Regions from separate parts of the Homo sapiens genome. Here region 1 is linked to region 2. Evidence: promoter capture Hi-C in 16 types of primary human blood cells and fetal thymus (Javierre and others, 2016). All regions are on one chromosome and are shown on one strand. The core of a region is centred on a gene start or on the middle of the fragment in contact, and the rest is flanking DNA. Distances in the headings are between cores, read along the strand shown. Region 1 overlaps DPYSL3 (dihydropyrimidinase like 3). Region 2 holds the start of SPINK1 (serine peptidase inhibitor Kazal type 1).

The links. Contacts are between HindIII fragments. The CHiCAGO score rates a contact against its expected background, and 5 or more counts as called.
Region 1: a contact is called between a fragment that was not itself captured here and the fragment with the promoter of SPINK1 in region 2, in 2 of 17 cell types (fetal thymus and total B cells). The highest score is 5.6, in fetal thymus.

What each region holds. Positions count from the first base shown.
Region 1 is chr5:147,442,404-147,445,220 of GRCh38, forward strand. All of the region lies in intron 1 of DPYSL3 (dihydropyrimidinase like 3), which reads right to left. Among named protein-coding and RNA genes, the nearest start is that of DPYSL3, 66 kb to the right of the region's middle. The HindIII fragment of the contact is 3,197 bases long and covers 1-2,817 here.
Region 2 is chr5:147,830,303-147,833,002 of GRCh38, forward strand. It overlaps SPINK1 (serine peptidase inhibitor Kazal type 1), which reads right to left and starts at 1,369. Exons shown (of 4, transcript NM_001379610.1): 1 at 1,221-1,369. The coding sequence starts at 1,275. It overlaps LOC124901101 (a long non-coding RNA gene), which reads left to right and starts at 203. Exons shown (of 2, transcript XR_007058987.1): 1 at 203-568; 2 at 1,107-1,309. The HindIII fragment of the contact is 4,964 bases long and covers 1-2,289 here.

The DNA of each region.
Region 1 (2,817 bases), core at 160-2,659, 390 kb before region 2:
AGCAGAGTTTTCCATGTAAAATGGCACAACTAATGAAGGAATGAGTGGTGACAAGAATATAAGGCTAAGAGTAAAGACACTGGGATTTCAATCTGTAGTCTGATACTCGTGAGCTGAGTGACTTCGGGAAGATTACTCAACCTCTCATCCTGAGGCAGTTTTTAGTTTGGCTTCAACTAAAAAACAACCGACAATAAATCTGTCATTTCATTTTTGTTGTTAATGCAAAGATCTCGGAAAAAATCAAAACAATGCAAAAAAAATGAGATTCATTTAACTAGATTTTCCAAGGAATGTAATAATATATAGCTATTAAAAATTAAATTATGGAAGGATATTTAAAACATGGAAAGATGTCGTAATATATTGTGCAATGAAAAGTAAGGCATAAAACAGCGTAAACAATATGTGGAATCATTTTAATAAATGGCAAATATAGTCAAAAAAAAAAATCTAGATGGGTATACTGAAAGTTTACAGTGGTTCTCTCTGAGTAATTTCATTGTAGCTTATTTTTATTGTCCTTATTGTTTGTGATTTTGGTAAATTTTTCTACAACCAGCATACTTATTTTGTAATGGAAAAAAAGCCTTAGTTAATTTTAAAATCCTTGTGTCCCACAGTAAAACAGATAGTAGCAAAAACACTAATTAGGTGGGTACCACTTGGGTGTTGGTTTTATTATTCATAAGATGGGGCATTAGACTTAAAAAAAATATTGACCCAGCAATCCCATTACTGGGTATATACCCAAAGAAATATAAATCATCCTACTATAAAGACACATGCACACGTATGTTTATTGCAGCACTATTTACAATAGCAAAGACATAGAACCAATGATAGACTGGATAAAGAATATGTGGTACATATACACCATGGAATACTATGCAGCCATAAAAAGGAATGAGATCATGTCCTTTGCAGGGACATGGATGAAGCTAGAAGCCATCGTTCTCAGCAAGCTAACACAGGAACAGAAAACCAGACACCGCATGTTCTCACTTATAAGTGAGAGTTGAACATTGAGAACACATGGACACAGAGAGGAGAACAACACACACCAGGGCCTGTTGGGGGTTGGGGGGGTGATGGGAGGGAACTCAGAGGATGGGTCAATAGGTGCAGCCAACCACCACGGCACATGTATACCTATGTAACAAACCTGCACGTTCTGCACATGTATCCCGTTTTTTTTTTTTTAAGGAGAGATAAAGAAAAAAGTTATCTCCATGGAGACTCTGAAAGTATGAATTTTACAGAGCCATAGTAAGTCAAACCTCAAAAGAATCTTACTTAAGATATATTTAAGAGAATGGGGCATGCAGTGTGGAGTATGAAATGAGAAGGTGGCATTTAAATTCACGTTAGGAAGAATCCCTAATTGGTAGTTTTGCTAATTCAATGCAAAGATGCTGAGAGTGGTGGGAATCTCCCTGGCAAGTTGTTTGTGTAAGTATAACAGTGTGGAGCAGCTTTGGACATGCCAGAAACAAAGCCGCTCTTAACAGGAGGGCTAGAGGGCTTCCTGATGCCAAGCAGTGCTAAGGAGTCCATCCCCCTTGCAGAAGAGGGGCACCAACTGTTTTCCATGTCCCCCATAACCTACACCACTCATACCTTATAGGAAACAGGTGCAGAGAAGGACTTACCCCTGGACTTGAAGTAAGTGAACTCCAATTGGAATCAAAGTCTTGTGACTCCAGAGGTGGGAGAGGGATAAGTTATTATCCCTCCGGAGGGATAATTTAAGGTAGCACCATACCGTGGGGTTAAGAATGGGGGCTCTAAGTCACATAAACTTAAGTTTGAATTTTGGTTCCATCATTTAAGCCTTGTGTGATATTAGGCAAATTACTTAATCTCTCTAAATTTCCTCATCAATAAAATGGAAAGAAAGACCTGGTGAAAAATCTATCTACCTAATTAAGTTGTTTTGATAATTAAGTGAGATAATGAATAAAAAGCACTTTACACAGGGTACAATAAATGTGAATTATTCTTATTATTAAACTAACTTTTGCCAGAGCTTATGGTCAATAAATATCTTTTATGCAATAAAAAATAGCAAAATGCTTTTATCATACCTGATTATATTATATATGACACTCTTATAACACACATAGTTCTTCAAACACTTTCTAATCAAAGGTTTTTGGTTCCATGAATATACTTTGATTCTCCCATTTTGTCCTCCCTTTAAAAGGCTCTAGTGATTACCATTACACATAAACCTATTGAAACCATAAACTCTCTGGTTTGTACCCAGAGATAAGCCTGGTAAAATCTGTGTTAACTGGCCCCACCCCTCAAACCAAAGAATTACATTTAGAATAAAAACGAGTAATAAGAATAGCTCCAAATGTAGCTCAGAGAAAGCTGACAGGTGCAGTGGGGTAAGAGACTAAAAATCTTTTGAAACACACAGACACAAAACCATTCCATGTAAATGTCCAGCCCTAATAGGGAAACAAAAAGAACTATGAGCTGCTTCTTAACCAATACTTCCAAAATACCAAGTTTGCTTTACAAATGCAGATTGGTCTATCTAGTTGCTGCTAATAACTCTAATGACTTTGTAGTTTACGTGCAAAGGCAGAAAGAGACCTCAATTAAGATCTATGTTGTATTCTGGTTCAAAGAGTCATGGTGACAGTTTCCTCTATATGAAAGACGACATAAAGGTCTGCATTAATTCTTTCAAATCATTTGCAGTAAGAGAAATGATGTCTTTGTTGCAGGCAATAAGTATCCAGGTAGGCCCCTGAAACAAGCTCAGAATGAGCCCAGATGCAGAAGCTGGAAGAAAAAGAGGAC
Region 2 (2,700 bases), core at 119-2,618:
AGAAAATAGCAGAGGTTTTGCTGACAACATATAGGAAATGATAACTGTGGATAAGTTCATGGAAGGGAAAGGGAACTAATATGATAGCAATCAAATAAGGAAACATTCCTGAAAATTAATTTTAATATCATCAATCTTTGAGGTGATCTGAGCAAAGAGGTAGTTCTTTGTATCTAAATGTAATGAAAATTAGTGAGGCATCTATGAGCTTGGAGAATTTCCCCCGGGATAGTCAGAACTTGATGTTGTTGGGGGCCCACTGGCTTTTAGAATCTAGTTGAGTCTAAAAACTGAAGAGCAGGTGCTCATCACAGGCATCTATTTGTATTAATTAACATGCATGAGGAGGGGGAAAGGGAACACTGACTGTTGCCATAAATATTCAGCAAATAAAACAAACAATATTCTTCCTCTTCTTAGCAAAGTGCTGATTTGGCTCTCCACAGGATCCTTCACTACATGAGAGGTGAAGTTGAAAATGTTAACCATTTCCAGTGATAAAAAGGAAACTGATCTTGGCTCTGCGGGTTCAGAGTTGTCTGTCAACATTGTCAAGATGCAGTTGGAGGTATATGTGCACCATCTATTCAAGCAGAATATTTTCTTTCAAAACATTCAAAATGTGTAATGTAAATACACAAAATGCAATTTTTGTATTTCCAGATACTAATAAGAAATACCAGGAATTGAAAATAAAAAATTCCCTTTATATCACATATATTAGCTATTCAGGGATAAATCTGACAAACTATACATGATTCAAGTACACTGAAACCTATACAATAAAAAAATAAATTTTTAATCAGTCAAATTATGCCTTTTATACTGAATAACTGGAAGCCATTTATCTATTTTATGCAATCCCATGAGAATTTAAAATTTGTAATTTGGCCTTACACATTTACAGAATGAGAAGTATACTTAAAGTTAAAATATTTTTACCCTTTTTTCTCTACCATATCCCAACAAAGGGTCAGCCACATCAATAGAGGAAAACCATTTTATTTCTGGGAATTTCTTACTAGTAGAATTGTTTTCCTTATAGTAGGTTAAAAATTCCTCTTAAAAAATAATTCTTACCTGTTGATTTTATTTCATCTCATTAGGTCCAAAACATCTCTCGAAGACTAGACTACATCAAAAGTCTAGAAGATAATGTGCTTCACAAAGCAACAGGTCAAAACAGTTTTATTTAAATTTGAAAAATATGCAACACTTACCAGATAGACTCAACAGGGCCAAGGCACTGAGAAGAAAGATGCCTGTTACCTTCATGGCTGAAGTTCTGCGTCCAGAGGTCAGTTGAAAACTGCACCGCACTTACCACGTCTCTTCAGAAGCCTGGGACTGGAAGGGTCATATGGCAGATGGCAGCAAGGCCCCACCTACTGGGCTATATCACAGATCTCCCTGGTTATTGATTGACTCTGTGTCATAGCCTGGCCTCCAGGTTCTGGGAATGTCACCTGTGTAAGAAAGGTGAAAGGAGCCAGGTGGGCCTGAAACATGCAAGGCAAAGATTCTGTCAGGAAAATAGTTCTAGTGGTTAGTTTGATCCCTAACTCCCTCTGTGGTTGTGGGAAAGTCATTCCCTTCTCAAGCCTGTTTTCTCACCTGTAAGATGAACTCAAAGATCCCTTCTACTCTGTAGTTCTGGATAGATGAGCAGGTATGGATAGCTACTAGAAAGAATTTTATTCCAAGTAGGGTAAAACCTCTCCATTCTTTTTTCCTTTCCTCCACTCTTCCTTTCTTATTCTTCTTTCTCTTTTCTCTATTTTTCCCTCACTCATTCACAAAACCTAAAGTAGCTGATGGAGTGGCAGATGAGAGGGAAAGAGAAAGCAAGAGAGAGAGAGGACTCAGTTCCCTAAAGCGTGTATTCTGGAGCTAGAGGGTGCTTGTTGGAGCCACTTTTGCTGTGCTTCTGTGTATTCATCTGGAAATTAAAATAATAATAACACCTAATTCAAAGGGTTACTCTTTCATCTGAGAATATGTGCTGGGTAAAAGAGAATATGTGCTGGATATCTACCATGTGTTATTAGAAGAGAATTCTCCATCCTCTCTCATGTTTTGGTGTGTCTTATGAGTAGAGGTACTGATAACCTTTGTTTCAGACTATCTTTTTAAGGGTGTTTATATAACAAACGACCTTAGAAAATACGTAATGTCTCCCTCTGCACCAAAAGGCAGGTTTGTTTACTGTTTAGTGTAATAAAGTTAATATCTCCTTCTAGGGCAAAGACCATGTTAATTGCCCTTTACAAAAGATTTCGGGTTTTTAAAAGCTTGGCCTTTCTTTCCTTTAACACACTGTACTTTCCCTGCAACTATCACTTGATGCCCCTTAAATTGGCCTGTGGAAATTGGGGCTTGGGAAACCAGAACAAATTCCAATACTCTGGCTGTTGCTATGGAATAATTAAGTCCCTTTTCTCTGAGCCAGGAGTCTGTGCCTTCTGCCAGAAACCATTATAATGTGGCAGGCTAACTTCTTAGCTTCCAAGTAGGATAAAATCTCAAACCCTTCCCAAGTCATGACAAGAACTGTATTTATCTCTTAAGACAGATCAGTAAATAAAAATAACAATCTCTGTCTTCATGGAGCTTCCATTGCCTTTTTGTTGAGGGAGGCAAGTGACAAAAAATAATAAGTGATTATAAAATATATCAGATAAATATTATGGAGAAAAGGAC